4 separate regions of the Homo sapiens genome follow, and regions 1, 2 and 3 are each linked to region 4. Evidence: promoter capture Hi-C in 16 types of primary human blood cells and fetal thymus (Javierre and others, 2016). All regions are on one chromosome and are shown on one strand. The core of a region is centred on a gene start or on the middle of the fragment in contact, and the rest is flanking DNA. Distances in the headings are between cores, read along the strand shown. Region 1 holds the start of SYCE2 (synaptonemal complex central element protein 2). Region 2 overlaps BEST2 (bestrophin 2). Region 3 overlaps GET3 (guided entry of tail-anchored proteins factor 3, ATPase). Region 4 holds the start of MAST1 (microtubule associated serine/threonine kinase 1).

What was found. The method cuts DNA at HindIII sites, captures the fragments that hold promoters and counts their contacts. A CHiCAGO score of 5 or more calls a contact.
Region 1: a contact is called between the fragment with the promoter of SYCE2 here and the fragment with the promoter of MAST1 in region 4, in 1 of 17 cell types (M1 macrophages). The highest score is 5.2, in M1 macrophages.
Region 2: a fragment that was not itself captured here is called in contact with the fragment with the promoter of MAST1 in region 4 in 11 of 17 cell types (monocytes, erythroblasts, total CD8 T cells and 8 more); the score reaches 10.0 in monocytes.
Region 3: a fragment that was not itself captured here is called in contact with the fragment with the promoter of MAST1 in region 4 in 8 of 17 cell types (erythroblasts, monocytes, naive CD4 T cells and 5 more); the score reaches 9.8 in erythroblasts.

The regions. Positions count from the first base shown.
Region 1 is chr19:12,917,517-12,922,859 of GRCh38, forward strand. SYCE2 (synaptonemal complex central element protein 2) reads right to left here and starts at 1,777. Exons shown (of 6, transcript NM_001105578.2): 1 at 1,727-1,777; 2 at 706-821. The coding sequence starts at 1,741. MIR5695 (microRNA 5695) reads left to right here and starts at 2,804; the gene lies at 2,804-2,888. FARSA (phenylalanyl-tRNA synthetase subunit alpha) reads right to left here. Exons shown (of 13, transcript NM_004461.3): 13 at 4,963-5,343. The coding sequence ends at 5,232. RefSeq lists an enhancer at 1,457-1,596. The HindIII fragment of the contact is 4,677 bases long and covers 1-3,566 here.
Region 2 is chr19:12,754,282-12,759,303 of GRCh38, forward strand. BEST2 (bestrophin 2) reads left to right here. Exons shown (of 10, transcript NM_017682.3): 4 at 271-504; 5 at 596-750; 6 at 1,098-1,175; 7 at 1,334-1,486; 8 at 1,574-1,654; 9 at 1,860-2,014; 10 at 3,370-4,177. The coding sequence ends at 3,796. Among named protein-coding and RNA genes, the nearest start is that of BEST2, 5.0 kb to the left of the region's middle. RefSeq lists silencers at 3,229-3,288, 3,369-3,768. The HindIII fragment of the contact is 8,895 bases long and covers 1-5,022 here.
Region 3 is chr19:12,738,542-12,743,638 of GRCh38, forward strand. GET3 (guided entry of tail-anchored proteins factor 3, ATPase) reads left to right here. Exons shown (of 7, transcript NM_004317.4): 2 at 1-117. Among named protein-coding and RNA genes, the nearest start is that of GET3, 3.6 kb to the left of the region's middle. The HindIII fragment of the contact is 4,185 bases long and covers 309-4,493 here.
Region 4 is chr19:12,834,886-12,840,163 of GRCh38, forward strand. MAST1 (microtubule associated serine/threonine kinase 1) reads left to right here and starts at 3,630. Exons shown (of 26, transcript NM_014975.3): 1 at 3,630-3,770. The coding sequence starts at 3,688. It also overlaps a transcript of RTBDN not described here. RefSeq lists an enhancer at 1-181 and silencers at 3,243-3,426, 3,431-3,610, 3,661-3,710. The HindIII fragment of the contact is 9,607 bases long and covers 2,581-5,278 here.

The DNA of each region.
Region 1 (5,343 bases), core at 527-3,026, 81 kb after region 4:
AACACCCAGCTAACTTCTGTATTTTTAGTAGAGACGGGGTTTCATCATGTTAGCCAGGATGGTCTCCATCTCTTGACCTTTTGATCCACCCCCCTCGGCCTCCCAAAGTGCTAGGATTACAGGCATAAGCCACCATTCCTGGCTTTTTTTTTTTTTTTTTGAGACAGCGTTTCGGTCTTTTTGCCCAGGCTGGAGTGCAATGGCGCCATCTCAGCTCACTGCAACCTCCACCTCCTGGGTTCAAGCGATTCTCCTGCCTCAGCCTCCTGAGTAGCTGGGATTACAGGCATGTGCCACTATGCCCAGCTAATTTTGTATTTTTAGTAGAGACGGGGTTTCTCCATGTTTGTCAGGCTGGTCTCAAACTCCCGACCTTAGGTGATCCACCCGCCTTGGCCTCCCAAAGTGTTGGGATTACAGGTGTGAACCACTGCACCTGGCCAATATTTTTTAATAAATTGGCCCGACATTCTGGCCCGCCTCTAGTCCCAGCCATTTCGGAGGCTGAGGTGGGAGGATCACTTGAGTCTGGGAGGTGGAGGTTGCAGTGAGCCGTGATCATGCCACTGCGTGGTGACAAAGCAAGACGCTGTGTTAGGAGGGAAAAAAAAAGCAGCAGACACTGGCATAGCCTTGTGGAAGAAAAGGGTGAATGAGAGGGACCCAGGGGCCTGTGTAGACCCATAGGGCTGGGATCTTCCTCACCTAGCTGGCCCTCCACCAGCTTCCTCCTCGCAGTTCTCTTCCCACCGCGGATGCTCCTTGCTCTCCCCCAAGGGCTGCGGTTCCTGGTCTTTGCATTTCACATGGGGCACGTCCACCTGCAAGCACAGTCAGGACGGAGGCCAAGGAGGGAGGATGAGGAGTGAACAGATCGCCCTCCTGCCGACCCTTCAACCCTGGTCACCTCGATGTGCTGCTGCGGGACGGTGGGGACCCGCAGGAAAGACGGGCAGGGCTGGGGCAGGTGCCATGAGGGCAGGGGCATGGGGTGAAAGGACACTCTGTCCCTAGGGGACACCAGGACACCAGACCTAGAGGGGCCGGGTGAGGGCAGGGCTGTGGGAATGTAACTGGAGGACCTGGGCTCCTAACTGGTATGTGTGTTGGCTGGAGTCCTTCGAGAAAGGAGAAGAGGTAGGAGAAAAGAGATGAGGCCGGGCGCGGTGGCTCACGCCTGTAATCCCAGCACTTTGGGAGGCGGAGGCGGGCGGATCACGAGGTCAGGAGTGCGAGAACAGCCTGAGCAATATGGTGAAACCCCGTCTCTACTAAAAATACAAAAATTAGCTGACGTGGTGGTGCGTGCCTGTAATCCCAGCTACTCGGGAGGCTGAGGAAGGAGAATCACTTGAACCCGGGAGGCAGAGGTTGCAGTGAGCCGAGATCACGCCACTGCACTCCAGACTGGGCGACAGAGTGATACTTCGTCTCAAAAAAAAAAAAAAAAAGAAATGAAAGAAACGGGTGCGGTGCGTGGGTGTTTGTGCCTTTCTCTACTCCGTTCCGGCCACGCGCCATGTGTGGAAATCAGACCCGTCAGTGCGTCAGTCAGGGCCGGGTTCAGTCAGTCAGGAAATTTGAGGCCAGGCCTGATGAGAGGGAGCCCCAATGGCAAAGGACAAGCGGCCGGGCTCGGGTCCGCTGGAGATGGCTGGGATCGCAGCCGTTCCCTGCCTATCTGTCCGCCCGCCCCACGCGCGAGAAGGAAACAAGCGCCGCGTACTCCCTGTCGCTCCATTCCGTATTTTCCCGCCTTCAAGCTCGCACCCTCTGCGCATGCGCCGACCCCGCCCCTGGCCAGCTGCGCTCCCGCGGACGAGTGTGTTGTGACGCGTGCTCCCGGCCCCGCCCTCTTTGAGAACTTGCGCGGCCAACTGGGCGGGGCCGACCGTTAAGCAGCAGTTTCGCGGTCCGCGGGCTGCGCGCGCAGTCGGCGCCCCTTGGGAGCAGGACGGCGCGCTCTGGGTGCGCTTGTGTGCCCCTGTGAGGCTCCTGGGTTCCACGGGGCGCCCAGGTTATACGGATCTCAGAGTCCTGTATTTATTCGGTGCTTCTAACTTCATCCACTCTGCCTTGGAAAATATACTCCATAACAATTTTTTTTTTTTTTTGAGACAAGATCTTGGTCTGTCGCCCAGGCTGGAGTGCAGTGGTGCGATCACAGCTCACTGTAGCCTCGACCTCCCAGGTTCAAGCGATCCTCCTGCCTCGGCCTCCTGAGTAGCAGTGTCATTCACCAGGCCCTTCTAATTTAAAAATATTTTTCTGGCCGGGCGCGGTGGCTCACGCCTGTAATCCCAGCACTTTGGGAGGCCGAGGCGGGTGGATCACCTGAGGTCATGAGTTCGAGACCAGCCTAGCCAACATGGTGAAACTGTCTCTACTAAAAATACAAAAAATAGCCGGGCGTGGTGGCGGGCGCCTATAGTCCCAGCTACTCGGGAGGCTGGGGCAGGAGAATTGCTTAAACCCAGGACGCAGAGGTTGCAGTGAGCTGAGATCATGCCACTGCACTCCAGCCGGGGTGACAGAGTAAAGCTCCGTCTCAAAAAAAAAAAAAAGATTGTATGTATATATACACACACACACACACACACACACACACATAATTATATTTTTTTTTCCTGTAGAAATGAGATCTCACTGTGCTGAGCCCAGGCTGATCCCCAACTCCTGGGCTCAAGCCGTCCTCCCGTCTTGGTCTCCCAAAGTGCTGTCTCAAAAAAAGAAGAAATTATCTGATCTACCCTATTGACTGTAGGTCATAAGACCCCCGTTTCAAAGAAGTTTCTGCCCCACACAAGGCCTATCTATCTAGATTCTTCTTGGCCTCTCTGAGCATGCATTCCTGAGACTCCAAGAAGAATCTAGACAGATAGGCCTTGCTGGGTTTCCCCACTCAGCCTATTAGTATTAGACGACCCCCCCGGCTTTTTTTTTTTTTTTTTTTTTTTGTCTTGCTCTGTTGTCCAGGCAACACTGGAGTGCAGTGGCAAGATCTCAACTCGCTGCAACCTTGGCCTCCCAGGTTCAAGCGATTCTCAGCCAACCAAGTAGCTGGGATTACAGATGCACCATGCCCAGCTAATTTTTGTATTTTTAGTAGAGATGGGGTTTTTCCATGTTGCTCAGGCTGGTCTCAAACTCCTGGCCTCAAGTGATCCACCCGCCTCAGCCTCCCAAAGTGTCAGGATTACAAGTATGAACCACGACAAACCCTTTTTGTCCAATCAAATTTCTACCTGGGTGTTCAAACTTTGCTGAACCTAAGCATAAGACACTTTTCATTAATCAGGCATGGTGGCGGGCACCTGTAATCCCAGCTGCTTGGGAAGCTGAGGCTGCTGTGAGCCAAGATCGCCCCTACACTCCAGCCCAGGGAACAGAGCCAGACTCCGTCTCAAAACAAAACAAAACAAAAACACAGTTTCCCCTGTATCTCTGGATCTTCATTCTGAAGGCTTGTCAGGTAACACTATGATCAAATACATTCGTATTCCTTTTCTCTTATTAATCTGCCTTTTCTCAGTAATTTTTAGTGAAACTTCAGAGGGCAATAAGGAAGCTTTCTCTTCACCCCTACACAGCCAAAGTTCAGATTTGATGGAAATGGCAAGATTCCAGGGTACTTGTGTTTATTTAGACACATAAATATGTATTTAACGACAGGGTCTCACTCTGTTGCCCAGGCTGGAGTGCAGTGGTGTAATCACGGCTCATTGCAGCCTCGACCTCCCAGGCTCAAGTGATCAACCTCAGTCTCTGGAGTACCTGGGATTACAGGCATGAGCCACTATGCTGAGCTAATTTTTGTTTTCTGTTTTTGGGGGACAGGTCTCACTCTGTGGCCCAGACTGGAGTGCAGTGGTGTGATCTCAGCTCCCTACAACCTCCACCTCCTGGGTTCAAGTGATTCTCCCACCTCAGCCTCCCAGATAGCTGGGACTACAGGTGCCTGCCATCATGCCTGCTAATTTTTGTTTTTTGTTTTTTTTTTTGGAACAGAGTCTTCTTCTGTCACCCAGGCTGTAGTGCAGTGGCACAATCTTGGCTCACTGCAACCTCCACCTCCTGGTTCAAACGATTCTCGTGCCTCAGCCTCCCGGGTAGCTGGGACTACAGGTGCTCACCACCACGCCCAGCTTTTTTTTTGTATTTTTAGTAGAGACGGGTTTTCACCACGTTGGCCAGGCTGCTCTCGAACTCCTGACCTCAAGTGATCTGCCTGCCTCAGCTTCCCAAAGTGTTGGAATTACAGGCGTGAGCCACCACGCCCAGCCTAATTTTTTTTTTTTTTTTTTTGAGACGGAGTCTTGCTCTATTGCCCAGGCTGGAGTGCAGTGGTGCGATCTCCGCTCACTGCAAGCTCCGCCTCCCAGGTTCACACCATTCTCCTGCCTCAGCCTCCTGAGTAGCTGGGACTACAGGCACCCGCCACCACGCCCGGCTAATTTTTTGTATTTTTAGTAGACAGGGTTTCACCATGTTGGCCAGGATGGTCTCAATCTCTTGACCTCATGATCCACACGCCTCAGCCTCCCAAAGTGCTGGGATTACAGGCATGAGCCACCGCACCCAGCCCTAATTTTTTTATTTTTAGTAGAGATGGGGTTTCACCACGTTGGCCAGGCTGCTCCTGAATTCCTGACCTCAAGTGACCCACCCACCTTGGCCTCCCAAAAGTTCTGGGATTACAGAAGTGAGCCACTGTGCCTGGCTCAGTACCCATACTTTTTTTTTTTTTTTTTGTATTTTTAGTAGAGACGGGGTTTCACCCTGTTAGCCAGGATGGTCTCGATCGCCTGGCCTCGTGACCCGCCCGCCTCAGCCTCCCAAAGTGCTGCGATTACAGACGCGGGCCACCTCGCCCAGCCCAGTACCCAGAATTTTGACCATCAAGTGGCACACTGAGCTAGGGGGACCCAACAAGACCCCTCACCCCTAAGGAAAGCCACCAGATGGGGGCAACTGCCCACTTTATTAGACAATAGGTGGCCCACAGGTCTCCTCAGGGCCCACCCTCACAGTAGACACACCACACAGGACAACAGAAGGAACCTGCTACCCAGTCCTCTGTCCCTGGGATTCTGGTCCTGGGACAGGTGGGAAAGAGGAAGGTGGGGGCTGGCCTCACAGAGGCCTCATAAATACAAGGTCACTGGCCAGGGATGCAAAGGAGCGCAGCAGCAGGGACTCGGGGAGGATGACCTGTCCTAGAGTGGCCCATGTCACGCAGCCTCCTGTGTGGGAGGGGGCCTCGGCTCGGCATCCAGGCGGCACAGGGGACTGTCATACACCATCTGCAGGTTCACCTTGTGGCCCACCAGCTCCCGGATATTG
Region 2 (5,022 bases), core at 2,214-4,713, 81 kb before region 4:
CAGGCTGGTCTCAAACTCCTGACCTCATGATCCACCCTCCTCAGCCTCCCAAGGAGCTGGGATTACAGGCGTGAGCCACCGCGCCCGGCAACTGTCCTTTCTGACCTCAGGGCTGGACCCCCAAGTTCCCAGCCCAAACGTGGTCAGGTTGGCCAGCACGCTCGGGTTTCCCTGATGCAGACCTTACGTTGCCCCCTCTCCCACAACCTGGGCCCCCAAACCCCTGGCCCTGGTGTCCCCACTGAGCCCCCATTCCCCGCTCCCCTGCAGGCTTTTATGTGACGCTGGTGGTGAACCGCTGGTGGAGCCAGTACCTATGCATGCCGCTGCCCGACGCGCTCATGTGCGTGGTGGCGGGCACCGTGCACGGACGCGACGACCGCGGCCGCCTCTACCGGCGCACACTCATGCGCTACGCAGGGCTCTCGGCCGTGCTCATCCTGCGCTCCGTCAGCACCGCGGTGTTCAAGCGCTTCCCCACCATAGACCACGTGGTGGAGGCTGGTGAGTACTCGGCCAGAGGCAGGGCAGAGACCGGGCAAGGACCAGGTGGAGGGGGGCAAGGGGCGAGCTATCCCTGACCCCTTTCCTCCAGGGTTTATGACCCGCGAGGAGCGCAAGAAGTTTGAAAACCTGAACTCATCCTACAACAAGTACTGGGTGCCCTGCGTCTGGTTCTCCAACCTGGCGGCACAGGCCCGACGCGAGGGCCGCATCCGCGACAACAGCGCCCTTAAGCTGCTGCTCGAGGTGGGCCCAACCAGGAGGTCATTCATATAGAATACCAGGGAAATTGTACCCCTGGAGCTGTGTCAACGGCGGCCCTCCAAGCACCCCCACGAGGCCGATTTCAAACACCCTCACCAGGTGCACTCTTACCTCCATGGGGCTGATTCCAATGCCCTTGAGGGGCAGCTCCTGGGTGCATGGTACCTCATCCAGGTGCACACTCACCACCAAATACCCTCCCTGGAACCCCCAAAGCACACTCCCAATTCCCACCAGGTGACCACCCACCTCCATCCCACGTACCTACACTTAATATCCCTGTGTGAGCTCACCATTCAGGCCTCCTCATGACCTGTATCCACCCCCAGGAGCTGAATGTTTTTCGGGGCAAATGTGGAATGCTCTTTCACTATGACTGGATTAGCGTACCCCTCGTGTACACGCAGGTAACCCCATCATGCCTCTTTTTATATTCGGTGTCAGTGGCCCTGATGCCTGGTTTCCAAGGGGAAACCAAGAACTAGCTAAGACCCCCATCATAATGATGCCTAATCCTAGCCTTGGACCCCAATGACCCCCCTGAGCCCTGCCCCGCCCTGCCCAGGTGGTGACCATCGCACTGTACAGCTACTTCCTGGCTTGCCTCATTGGTCGCCAGTTCCTGGACCCGGCTCAGGGTTACAAAGACCACGACCTAGACCTGTGTGTGCCCATCTTCACCCTCTTGCAGTTCTTCTTCTACGCCGGCTGGCTCAAGGTAGGTGGGTGATCCAGGCTGGAATTTCGTGGGTGGGGCGGGCATGGGGTTCCCAAGTTTCCACCTAACTGCTCCCTCTCCTCTCAGGTAGCTGAGCAGCTCATCAACCCCTTCGGAGAGGACGATGATGACTTTGAGACCAACTTTCTGATCGATAGAAACTTCCAGGTGAGACTCAGTTTCCAGGTGAGACTTCCAGGTGGCGACCATCCCGGAGTGCCCAACAGGGTTCTGGTCCCACCCCTGCCAAGTCTTGCCAGGTCTCACCCCAACCATCCTTCCCTCTGTGGTCCCCACCCACCCGAAGGGGTCCACCCTGTGGTCCCGGCGGGTTGCCCTGCCCCCACTTTACCCTGTGTGTTTGCACCCGTAGGTGTCCATGCTGGCAGTGGACGAGATGTATGATGACCTGGCTGTGCTGGAGAAGGACTTGTACTGGGATGCAGCCGAGGCTCGCGCCCCATACACAGCGGCTACTGTCTTCCAGCTGCGGCAGCCTTCCTTCCAGGGCTCCACCTTTGACATCACGTGAGCCAGTTGGGTGGGCAGGGCCGCCTGGGGCAGGGCTTATGGCTCTGCGGGGCACATCTGATTGAAAAGGTTAAGTGGAATCAATTCTGGAGATGGGGATAAGAGCTAAAGTCTCAGGACTGTGATAACGCCAGAAGCTAAGATAGGAGTCAGGGGACAAGGTCAAGGTCTGAGACTGGGCCACTGACTGGGGACAGAGCTAAGGGCTGAGGTCAGCGAGGATCAGACCGGTCAGTGGTGATTCCAAAGGAGATGAGGGCTGAGGCCAGGAGCACTGGCTCACGCCTGTAATCCCAGTACTTTGGGAGGCTGAGGCAGGAGGATCCTTTGAGCAAGCCCAGGAGTTCAGACCAGCCTGGGCAACATAGTGAGACCCCCGTCTCTACTAAAAATAAAAAATTAGCCAAGCGTGGTGGTGCACGCCTGTAGTCCCAGCTATTCAGGGGCTGAGGTGGGAGGATTGCTTGAGTCGAGGAGTTCGAGGCTGCAGTGAGCCATAATGACACCACTGCACTCCAGCCTGGGCAACAGAGCAAGAGCCTGTCTCAAAAAATGAAAATAAAGGCCAGGCGCAGTGGCTTATGCCTGTAATCCCAGCACTTTGGGAGGCCAAGGCAGGTGGATCACTTGAGGTCAGGAGTTCGAGACCAGCCTGGCCAACATAGTGAAACCCTGTCTCTACTAAAAATACAAAATTAGCCGGGCTTGGTGGCTCACGCCTGTAATCCCAGCTAATCGGGAGGCTGAGGCAGGAGAATCACTTGAACCTGGGAGGCAGAGGTTGCAGTGAGCCGAGATTGCGCCATTGCACTCCAGCCTGGGCCACAAGAGTAAAACTGCATTTCAAAACATAAAAATAGGCCGGGTGCGGTGGCTCACGCCAAGGTGGGCAGATCACGAGGTCAGGGGTTAGAGACTAGCCTGGCCAACATGGTGAAACCCCATCTCTACTAAAAATACAAAAATTAGCCGGTGTGGTGGCACGCACCTGTAGTCGCAGGTACTCAGGAGGCTGAGACAGGAGAATCGCTTGAACCCGGGAGGCGAAGGTTGTGGTGAGCCGAGATTGCGCCACTGTACTCCAGCCTGGGCAACAGAGCGAGACTCCGTCTCAAAATAAAATAAAATAAAATAAAAATAAAAAAGGAAATGGGGCTGAGCCACGACTGAGGTTGAAGATCCAAGTTGAAGTGCAAACACAGGGTGAGGCCAGGCTCTGGGTTTAGGAGCTAAGATCTTTGGGGATAAGTGGGACAAAGCGGTGGGTGGAGTCAGGGAAATCAGCGCGCCTGGGACCCTGCTCTGTCAACAAGAGGCGAGGCCGCAGCGCTGGCCCACTGTCGGTCCCGCAGGCTGGCCAAAGAAGACATGCAGTTCCAGCGGCTGGACGGCTTGGATGGACCGATGGGAGAGGCGCCCGGCGACTTCCTGCAGCGCCTCCTGCCGGCGGGCGCGGGCATGGTCGCGGGAGGCCCGCTGGGCCGGCGCCTGTCCTTTCTACTCCGCAAGAACAGCTGCGTGTCGGAGGCGTCTACTGGGGCCAGCTGCTCATGCGCGGTTGTCCCCGAAGGCGCGGCCCCGGAGTGCAGCTGCGGGGACCCGCTGCTCGACCCCGGCCTGCCGGAGCCCGAGGCCCCGCCCCCTGCGGGTCCCGAACCGCTTACCCTCATCCCTGGGCCTGTCGAGCCCTTCAGCATCGTGACCATGCCCGGGCCCCGGGGTCCGGCGCCACCCTGGCTGCCCAGCCCTATTGGCGAGGAGGAGGAGAATCTGGCCTGAGATCTTAGAGCCCAGCCCCCTAAGGACAGGGAACCAGGTCCCTGCACGGCACCCACGCAGGTGTCCCGGTCTGCATAAGCCTCGTGTGCCTTTGTAAAGTCCACCTACACTTTTGACCAGCTCTCGCTGCCCGCATGTGTTTGGCGCTGTGCTAGGGGCGGGAGTTCTTCCAGACTCTTGGACCAGCCCGCCCTGACCACCAGCTCTACTTCCCAACCCCCACTGCCTGAGAGGTCTCTATCAGTGTCCTGCCTGAATTCTTTCCTTCAAGTGAAGATGTGACTGACTACCTCCTCGAGTTGTCATGAGGATGAAAGAATGGCATTAAAGCATTTGGTATACAGTAGGTGCTCAATAAATTGCTAGTGATTTTTACTCAAACGTTGTTAGTCTGATTTCTCCTGCCAGACATTATCCATTGTCCTAAGTAAAATTTGGGAGTTCTTGCAGGTTCTTTTTTTTTTTTTTTTTTTTGAGACGGAGTCTCTCTCTGTTGCCCAGCCTGGAGTGCAATGGTGTGATTTCTGCTCACTGCAACCTCTGCCTCCCAGGCCCAAGCAATTCTCCTGCCTTAGCCTCCCAAGTATCTGGGATTACAGGCACGCACCACCACACCCAGCTAACTTTTTTTAATTTTTAGTAGAGAGGGGGGTTTCACCATGTTGGCCAGGCTGGTTTCGAACTCTTGACTTCAGGTGATCCACCCACCTCTGCCCCCCAGAGTGCTGGGATTACAGGCGTGAGCCACCAAGCCCTGCTGCAGGTTTCTTCTTTCTTCTTCTTCCTTCTCCTCCTTCTCGTCTTCCTCCTCCTCCACCACAACCACCAGGCCCAGCTTATTCTAGGTTTTTTTTTTTCCTTTGAGACAGAGTCTCACTTCATCACCCAGGCTGGAGTGCAGTGCCACGATCTTGGGTCACTGCAACCTCCACCTCCCTGGTTCAAGGGATTCTTGTGCCTCAGTCCCCCAAGTAACTGGAATTACAGGTGCGCACCACCACACCTGGCTAATTTTTTGTATTTTTAGTAGAGACGGGGTTTCACCTCTTCCAGGTTTTATGATGGTGCCCTGCTTAATTCTTCCCAAACTCTGCTGTCTGAAACACCCACATCAGTGCCCTGGCATTACTCATTAATGAGCCAGCCACTGTCCCAGGATCATGGGTTCTTCTTGCCTCAAGCCTCTGCATTCTCAGGCCCTCAGGGCTTCAGGTTTTACTAATTTA
Region 3 (5,097 bases), core at 1,151-3,650, 98 kb before region 4:
CGTGAGAGTGTTCTGATCATCTCCACAGACCCAGCACACAACATCTCAGATGCTTTTGACCAGAAGTTCTCAAAGGTGCCTACCAAGGTCAAAGGCTATGACAACCTCTTTGCTATGGTGAGTGGAACAGGGCTTAGCCCCCACTTCTGGGAAAAGCCTCTTCCAGCCTTTCTTGTGCGCACACACCAGCAGCCACCGTGTCCTATCCACTCTATATCCTGTGTCTCTCGTGTTTCACTCCTTCCTCAACATACTCACAAGGGAACCAATGAGGAATTGCAGAGCAGGAAGCACACCAGAGTGCCTGAAGCTTAGTGAGCCAGGGTAGGGGAAGGAGAAGTTGGAGAGACCAATCAGAGCCACATGGTGTGGGACCTTATGGGCCACTAAGAAGTTTGGCATTGACTCCAGGTTATTAACGGGAAGCTGTTTGTTTTAAGCAGGGCAATGTCGTGGCCAAATTCATGTTTGAAAAGTACCCTTTGACGGCCAGGTGGAGATTTAATTGTCAGTCAGGGTAGAAGCAGGGAAACTAACAAGGAGATTGGGGGTGTAACCAGTTGAGAGATGACAACATCCTGGACTCTGGTGGAGGCAGAATGTTGGGGGAGAAGTAGTCAGACTTGAGGTTTTTTTTTTTTTTAGACACTCAAGACTCCTCTGTCTCCCAGGCTGGAGTGCAGTAACCCGATCTAGGCTGACTGCAACCTCCGCCTCCCAGGTTCAAGCAATGCTCCTGCCTCAGCCTCCCGAGTAGCTGGCACTACAGGCTTGCGCCACCACTGCCTGTTAATTTTGTTTTTTTTAGGAGACAGGTTTTCACCATATTGGCCAGGCTGGTCTCAAACTCCTGACCTCAAGTGATCTGACTGCCTCGGCCTCCCACAGTGCTGGGATTACAGGCATGAGCCACCACATCGCACCAGGGATGTATTTTGGAAGTAAACCAGTAAGATTACTTGGGTGAGAAAAAGAAATGAATTGATTACATGTCTTTCTTGTCTCTCTGAGCAGCTGGGATGGGGAAAACTAGGAAAGGAGTAGGTTTAGAATGAACAAATAAAGAATTTCATTTTGTCCACAGTGAATCTGAGTTGCCCACTGGAAATCCAAGTGTAAACATCATGACAGTAGCTTGTTTATGTGAGTCTGGAGCCCAGAGGAGGTTGGCATTGATTTGGAAGTCACTGTCTCAAGGGTGGCATTTAAAGCTGTGTGAGGGCTGGGCATGGTGGCTCATTCCTGTAATCCTAGCACTTTGAGAAGCCAAGGTGGGCGGATCACTTGAGGTCAAGAGTTTGAGACCAGCCTGGCCAACATGGTGAAACCCCATCACTACTAAAAATATAAACCAATTAGCTGGGCATGGTGGCAGGTGCCTGTAATACCAGCTACTCAGAAGGCTAAGGTAGGAGAATCGCTAGAACCCAGGAAGCAGAGATTCTCCTGCCTCAGCCTCCGGAGTTGCTGGGATTACAGGTGCCTACCACCATGCCCGGCTAATTTTTGTATTTTTAGTAGAGACGAGGTTTTCTCACGTCTCAAAAAAAAAAAAAATTGGCTGGGCGCAGTGGCTCACTCCTGTCATCCCAGCACTGTGGGAGACCGAGGCGGGTGGATCACAAGGTCAGGAGATCAAGACCCTCCTGGCTAACACGGTGAAAGCCCATCTCTACTAAAAATACAAAAAATAGCTGGGCATGGTGGCAGGCGCCTTTAGTCCCAGCTGCTCAGGAGGCTGAGGCAGGAGAGTGGCGTGAACCCCGGAGGCGGAGCTTGCAGTGAGCTGAGATCGCGCCACTGCACTCCAGCCTGGGCGACAGAGCAACACTCTGTCTCAAAAAAATAATAAAGGCCGGGCACGGTGGCTCACATCTGTAATCTCAGCACTTTGGGAGGCTGAGGCGGGCAGATCACAAGGTCAAGAGACTGAGACCATCTTGGCTAACACGGTGAAACCTCATCTCTACTAAAAATACAAAAAAATTAGCCAGGTATGGTGGCGGGCACCTGTAGTCCCAGCTACTCCGGAGGCTGAGGCAGGAGAATGGCGTGAACGCGGGAAGTGGACCTTGCAGTGAGCCGAGATCGCGCCACTGCTTTACAGCCTGAACAACGGAGCGAGACTCAACAAAAAATAATAAATAAAAATAAAATAAAATAAAGAGATGCTGCAGAGTGAGGATGCTGGCAGAGGACAGTCCTCAGGTGGGATGAGCTCCATCCAGCATACAGACCCAGAACTTGGGCGCTGCCAGGGTCAGGGACTGGGAGGGAAACAGGAGGAATTGGGGCACTTCCCGGGCAGAGATGAGGGTGTTGGCAGCCAATGGCTTCTCTTTCTCACCAAGGAACAGGCAAGGGTCTCAGCAGTGAATGGGATAGAAGTTTGAGGAGGGAGAAAATACCACATAAACACTTATTAAGGTAGCAGGGGGAACCAGAATTGTCTGGATCATCAAGTGCCCATTGGAGATTTGTGTTCAGAAGAGGGGAGCAAGGGCGGGCGTGGTGGCTCATGCCTGTAATCCCAGCACTTCGGGAGGCTGAGGCAGGTGGATCAGAAGGTCAGGAGTTAAAGACCAGCCTAGCCAAGATGGTGGAACTCCATCTCTACTAAAAATACAAAAATTAGCTGGGCATGGTGGCTCACGCCTGTAATCCCAGCACTCTGGGAGGCCGAGGTGGGCGGATCACAAAGTCAGGAGATTGAGACCAGCCTGGCTAACAGGGTGAAACCCCATCTCTACTAAAAATACAAAAAGTTAGCCGGGCGTGATGGCGGGTGCCTTTAATCCCAGTTATTCGGGAGGCTGAGGCAGGAGAATGGCGTGAACGCGGGAGGTGGAGCTTACAGTGAGCCTAGATCGCGCCACTGCACTCCAGCGTGGGTGACAGAGCAAGACTCCATCTCAAAAAAAAAAATACAAAAATAAGCCAGGCACGGTGGCTCACGCCTGTAATCCCAGCACTTTGGGAGGCTGAGGCGGGCAGATCACCTGAGGTCGGGAGTTCGAGACCAGCCTGACCAATATGGTGAAACCCCGTCTCTACTAAAAATACAAAAATTAGCCTTGCGTGGTGGCCGGCACCTGTAGTCCCAGTTACACGGGAGGCTGAGGCAGGAGAATTGCTTGAACCTGGGAGACGGAGGTTGCAGTGAGCCGAGATCATGCCACTGCACTCCAGCCTGGGATACAGAGCGACACTCCATCTCAAAAAAAAAAAATTAGTTGGGCCTGGTGGTGGGCGCCTGTAATCCCAGATACTCGGGAGGCTGAGGCAAAGAATTGCTTGAACCTGGGAGGCGGAGGTCACAGTGAGTCGAGATTGTGCCACTGTACTCCAACCTGGATGACAGAGCGAGACTCCGTCTCCAAAAGGGTGAGGAGCAAGATGGGAATACTCTTCAGGAGTGTTCGGCCCTCAAGTGCAGTGATACTAAAGAGCTAGAAAGCCATACCTATCATTTCAGTGCTTGCAGAGACTGAGACAAGAGGATCACGTGAGGTCAGGAGTTCAAGACCAGCCTGGGCAACAAAGGGAGACCCTTTCTCTACAAAAAACAAACAAAATTAGCTGGGCATGGTGGTGTGTGCCTATAGTCCCAGTAAGTTGGTAGGTTGAGGCAGGAGGATCATTTGAGCCTAAGAGTTTGAGGCTGCAATGAGCTATGTATGAGATGGTATCTTTTTTTTTTTTTTTTTTGAGACTGAGTTTCACTCTGTCACCCAGGCTGGAGTGCAGTGGTGTGATCTCAGCTCACTGCAACCTCTACCTCCTGAGTTTAAGCGATTCTCCTGCCTCAGCCTCCCAAGTAGCTGTGATTACAGGCGCCCGCCACCACATCCGGCTAATTTTTGTTTTGGGGGGGTTTTTTTTGTTTGTTTTGAGACGGAGTCTTATTCTGTCGCCCAGGATGGAGTGCAGTGGCGCAATCTCGGTTCACTGCAACCTCTTCCTCCCGATTTCAAGTGATTCTCCTGCCTCAGCCTCCCGAGTAGCTGGGACTCCAGGTGCATGCCACCATGCCCGGCTAATTTTTAGTATTTTTAGTAGAGACGGGGTTTCACCATGTTAACCAGGATGGTCTCGATCTCCTGACCTCGTGATCCACCCGCCTTGGCCTCCCAAAGTGCTGGGATTACAGGCGTGAGCCACCGCGCCTGGCCTGTATTTTTTTTTAGTAGAGACGGGGTTTCAACATGTTGGCCAGGCTGTTTTCAATCTCCTGACCTCAAATGATCTGCCTGGCTTGGCTTCCTAATACACTGGGATTACAAGTGTGAGCTACCGCGCCCGGCCAAGACGCTATCTCTAAAAGAAAGAAAAAAAAAGCTGGAAGTAACCAGAGTGGGGGATTTTGCCAACAGCAAGGGGAAAGGGAGTGTTTGCAGAGGGAACCTGTGGAGGCTGGGCTGGATAAGGGTGCCAGCCAAGAGGAACACTGACAGTTTACAGGGGCCAGGTGAGGGGATGAAGTAGTCCAAAGAAGCTTAAAATATATGAAGCATAAGAAGAGGGTGCAGTGATGAGTGGGCAAGCTCCCCAACAGGGAATGACCCCTAAGGCCAGCGAGTTGGGTACTTCCCCATGGGACCCATGAAGTTACCAAGAAGAGGTGACAGAGGAGGAAGATAAAGAGGGAGGCATTGGCCGGGCATGGTGGCTCATACCTGTAATCCCAGCATTTTGGGAGGCTGAGGTGGGTGGATCACCTGAGGTTGGGAGTTGAAAACCAGCCTGACCAACATAGAGAAGCCCCGTCTCTACTAAAAATACAAAATTAGCTGGGGTGGTGGCGCATGCCTGTAATCCCAGCTACTCAGGAAGCTGAGGCAGGAGAATCACTTGAACCCTGGAGGCGGAGGTTGCAGTGAGCCAAGATCACGCCATTGTCCAGCCTAGACAACAAGAGTGAAACTCCATCTCAGAAAAAAAAAAAATTACAAAAATTAGCCAGGCATGGCCAGGCGTGATGGCTCGTGCCTGTAATCCCAGCACTTTGGGAGGCCGAGGTGGGTGGATCACGAGGTCAGGAGATCGCCACCATCCTGGCTAACACAGTGAAACCCCGTCTCTACTAAAAATACAAAA
Region 4 (5,278 bases), core at 2,380-4,879:
TCCGGTCCCAAACATCCCAGAGGGGAAGGTGATGATATCTGTGCCCCAAGGCCCTGCCTGGGGTCTGGCCCTTCTGAGCCTCCTTGGGGCTCAGCCCCAGGCTTGGTAATCTGGAGTTTAGATAAAGCCGAGAATGGGCCCAGACTCAGGCTCCATCCCCAGCCTGAATCTTGGGAAAAGAGGATTCAAACCCTCACCTAGGGCTTCGTCCATTTCTAGACTCCCCTAATCCATCATTCCCGAGGTTGAAGGCCAAGGGGAGCTGATTGGTCAGTGCAGCAGGAAAAATGGTGATCAGACTGCAGGAAGGACCTTCCAGGCGTCTGGGTAACGCCGGAGCCAGACATGAGTTGGAAAACTAATTTGCTTTCAGAGCCCAGATGGCCCGATCTCCGGAGCCTAGGCCTCTCTGAAGTGCTCCCACATTCTCTCCGCCTCTCGGGGGTGGGTTAGGAGAGTGGGTTCCGAGAGAAGGGAGGCAGCTGCGGCAAAGTTAGAGCAAGTACTGCAGCAGCCAGGTTGGGTCCGCGCCGTCGGGTTTCTGAGAAAAGGGAGGAAAGAGGCGGGGCCTGCACGGTGTGTCCCCGCCCTCCAGGCCGGCGTCAACTCTCATTGGCTCAGCGCCACGCGGGACTTTAAACTCCCGCTCGAGACACCGCCCCCAACGCGGAATGCTTCCACTCACCCACCCACCCACTCAACCCCAGGCTTGCTCTGGGTCCGGCGATCCCTGTCGGAGTCCTGTCCCCACCGCTTCCCTTCTGGCGGGATTAACCACTTCGCTGCCTGGATACACCCACATACGTTGGTGCATCCTCTTAGGAACTGTCGCATCACTGCTGAGCGCCCGAGGGTCCCCTGTGTGCAGCTAGGCTCTTTTTTTTTTTTTTTTTTTTGAAACGGAGTCTCGCTCTGTTGCCCAGGCTGGAGTGCAGTGACGCAATCTCGGCTCACTGCAACCTCCGCCTCCCGGGTTTAAGAGATTCTTCTGCCTCAGCCTCGCTAGTAGCTGGGATTACAGGCTCATGCCAACATGCCCGGCTAGTTTTGTATTTTTAGTAGAGAGTGGGTTTCACCATGTTGGCCAGCCTGGTCTTGAACTTCTGACCTCAGGTGATCCACCCGCCTCGGCCTCCCAAAGCGCTGGAATTACAGGCGTGAGCCACCACGCCCTGGGATCTTATATGTAGACAGCATCCTGAGTTCGAATGCCCTGTCTGCAGTGTCAACTATTAATCCTGTGCGGGAGAAGCGGAATCCACTTGGCCGAGCGGCTCTGCAGCTGAGATTGGAGGTGGCGTCTGTTTACACTGACGCCAAAGACCCGAACTTCCGCCGCTCCAGTTTGACCCTTTCTTCGTCCCTAGAATGTTTGGGGGCGCTAGCGGGTGGGGCTGGGTTCCAGGTCTTCTTCGGGTGGTGCTTAAAAGCCCTCCAGGGGCTTACCCTCCAAGGCCGGTTACCCGGATCTGGACACCCTGGGCTCTGTGGCCAGAAAATCCAGGTCTTGATTTCGCTTGGGCCATTGCAGACACGCAGCCAGGTCGACTGGTCCTCATTCACTCCGGTCATGCAAAGACAGAGGGAAAACCTGGTTTGGATTATCGGTCACCCGTGGCTCGGGAGGGCAGGGCTGCCCTTTGGCCCCGCCTATATGTTTGTCCGTTGTACAACGGGGTGGGAGGACGCTGTGGCCCATCCTCTGTCATGCAGCATGTCCCTCCTTAATAACGCCTGTTCTCCAGACTTAGTATTTATTGAGCACTTGCTATGTGCTAGGCACCATGCTAAGGGGCTAGGCATCTGCATCAACTCCTAAGATCCTCAAGGAGACACGGGACTATTGGAAGGTCATTTGCCAAGGTCATAAAAAGCAGAATTGAGATTTGAACCTAGGCTTTTTGCTTTTAGAGATCCTAGAAATGTCTAGGACATCCCTCATTTTCCTTTTGTTGGAGTCCCCTCCAAAGGCCTTTTGAAACTCTCCCCCAAATCTTTCCACCTGCAGCCCCACTCAGTTTCCTTCCTTCCACCTCACCCTGTGGATAGAAAACTGGCTGGCAGGTGTTGCCCCTTGTACCCCATTCCTTTCCTCAGAAAAAAGCCAAGACCCCATATCTCCTGATCCCTACAGTGACTTCCTAAGAGCTTGACAAATGGAAGGTGACCTTCTTCAAATGCAGACACATAAAGTTAATACTCACTAATTATTATTATTGTCATTATAAAAAATGACTATGCGGCCATCACCTGAATTTCCATTTTTATTTTTTTATTTTTTAAACTTTTTATTATTTATTTATTTATTGTTAATTGAGAGGGTGTCTTACTCCAGCAGTGGTGCAATCATAGTTCACTATAACCTCGACCTCCTGAGCTCAAGAGATTCTCCCACCTCAGCCTCCGTGGTTCCCATTTTAAATCTCAGTTGTGAGTCACTCTACTTACCTACCCCCCACCCCCTACCCCAACTCTATGACTCTAGCTGGGAGTCAGATAGATCTGCTGAGGTGTAGATGAGTCATTCATTCTTTCAACCTTTCATTCATTCAACCTTTCATTCATTCATTGAGTACGCTAAGCTTATTCCCGCCTCCAGGCCTTTGCCCTTGCAGTTCCCTCCACCTGGAATGCTCTCTCCACAGATCCTCCCATGGCTGGCTCTTATCTTTCAGCAACCAGCTTAAAAGTCACCTCCACAGAGCAGCCCTGTCTGACAATGTGTCTCCATCCTAGCCATTGTCCATCACATCACCCTGTTTAATTTATTCATAAGACTAATTATTGTCTAAAATGATTTCGTTCACTTCTACACTAATCTTGTTTAATGTCCCCTTTACCCTATAAATACTAGTCCCAAAAGGCCAGAAACTTTTTTTTTTTTCTCCTTGAGACAGAGAGTCTTGCTGTGTTGCCCACGCTGGTGTTTCCTTGGACTCAAGCGATTCTCCTGCCTCAACCTCCCAAGTAGCTGGGACTAGAGGTGCACACCACCACACCGGACTTGTAATTTATTCACTACTGTGTCCCTAGTGCCTAGGATTGGGTCAGCATACAGTAGGTGCTCAAGACATATTTTTCAAATAATGATTCCTATTTCATTTGCACAAACACACGCTGATATGCCAACTCACTTGCCTTTATATGGCGCCCCGCCTGTGTACGTGGGCCTCTGTTGGTCTCTGAGGGTCAGGAGAGGAATCACCCAGGGATCCTCTCCCCCAAGAAACTTGGCCCGCAGTGCATGGCCAAGGGTGAAAGTGACAGTGCTGAAGAGGGGCCTGTCTTACCCTGCTTCTGCTCCTCCAGGGAGTTGATAATGCTTGTGGGCAGCAACGGCAGGTCCACGCTGACCTTCATCGTTTTGCCCCTTTGCCTTCCAGAAGGATTTGCCCCTGCCCCGGAAAAGCAGCAGGTGAGCCTGGGGAGAGACGTGGCGGGGGCTGGCCGCCCCTTCTCCCGCCGGGGTGGGGGCGCCAGGCGAGTGCGCGGGCGGGGCCTGGCTCGCCGGCACGCAGCAGCGCCCCCTCCCGGCCGGCTGCAGCCGCAGGGCCCTCCCCTTCCCTGCCCTCCCCTGCCCGCTGCGGCGGCTGCAGCCTCCGCCCCGCGCGCTTGCTCCCCGCGCCGCCGCCGCCGCCGCCTCCGCCGCTGCTGCCGCACCTGCCACCATGTCGCCGCCGCCGGGTCATGTCTGACTCTCTCTGGACCGCGCTTTCTAATTTCTCGATGCCCTCCTTCCCCGGCGGCAGTATGTTCCGCCGCACCAAGAGGTAGACCCCCGATCCCCTAGACATTGTCCCGGCCCTCCCCGCAAAAGCCGCCGCTCCGGGTACTGCTGCAGGGCGGGGCCCGGGATGCTGCGCCCGGTCCAGCTGCGCCAGAGGTGCCCCAGCTGCGCCTTCCCGCCGGGGTTGGGGTTGAATGGGGGGTGGTGTGGGCCGAGTCTGGGGGGCTTGCACGCTGGAGAGGACGGCCGCGGGGGGAGGGGGCTGCGCCACTGGGGGTTTGTGGCGCCTTTGTCTGCTGGCGCTGCGGGCTCCAACAGCCTGGTGGGGGTAGAGGAAGAAGGGGAGGCTGGGGGGCTTGGCACCCTCAGAACAATAGCCGCAGCCTGGCCTCCCCCCACCCCCATGCCGCGTGCTCCTGGACGCGCTAATATGCTCAGTCACTGCGGCTGTGGGTGAGGGGACGGACGGAGGGGCTTGGGGCTCCCTCTTCGGGAGCTGGATGCTGAGGGGTAGAAAAAAGGGGGGGTTTATCATAACACAACCCCCCCCCCCGAACACAGCCTTACACTGAAAATAGTGACACACAGCGTCACACAGGACATGATGTCACACACATACACACAACAGCCCTAGTGGCCCAGATACACTGGGAGGTGCCACACATACCTAGCCTTGCAGCTGCCACAGGTCAGAACCATGCACAGACACACAGGGGCACCACGTCGTGTACACCTAGTAAGATGTCACTTACATGGCGATCCACACACACACAGTTATGTCATCCAAGATGCAAACATGTGTTTCAATATCCCATCCATGCATCCAAGAATGTCACAACACACGATGTCATATCTAGGTATCTCACATACTATGTCACACTGACATCAGGATAAACAGATGTAGGGATCTTGCAGAGACAGAACCACGCAAAATCACATGTTATCACATTGCAAGACTCACCTAGAGAATGTCAAATGTGGTGACATGTTTGGACACAGTGTCACAAGATGTTAAATTCACACAATAGATGCTACATACACATGGACAAGCATGGTGAATGTCACACCCAGACGGAAGGACAGTATCGGACACAGACTCAGAATGCCACACAAAGACATAGATACATGTAGGGGGGATCATGCATCCTGGCCAGGCATGGTGGCAGGCACCTGTAGTCCCAGCTACTCAGGAGGGTGAGGTGAGGCGGGAGGATTGCTTGAGCCCAGGAGTTTGAGGCTGCAGTGAGCCACTGCACACTGCACTCCAGCCGGGCGACAGAGCGAGACATTGATTTAAAAGAAAAAAAATAATAATAATACAACCTGCCTGTGTTACAGCACACATTGTTATGGACAAGTGGCATTTCACACTGTGTCACATAGACACACAAATGCTCAAATTGTATCACACAAGATAAACCCACGTTGTGTCACACGTATCACACTAGAATGCATTCAGCGTCACACATTGTTGAATTCATACAGTGGATACCACACGTGGATACCTACAGTGAATGTCACGCATAGACTGAGACACGCTCAGTATCACCA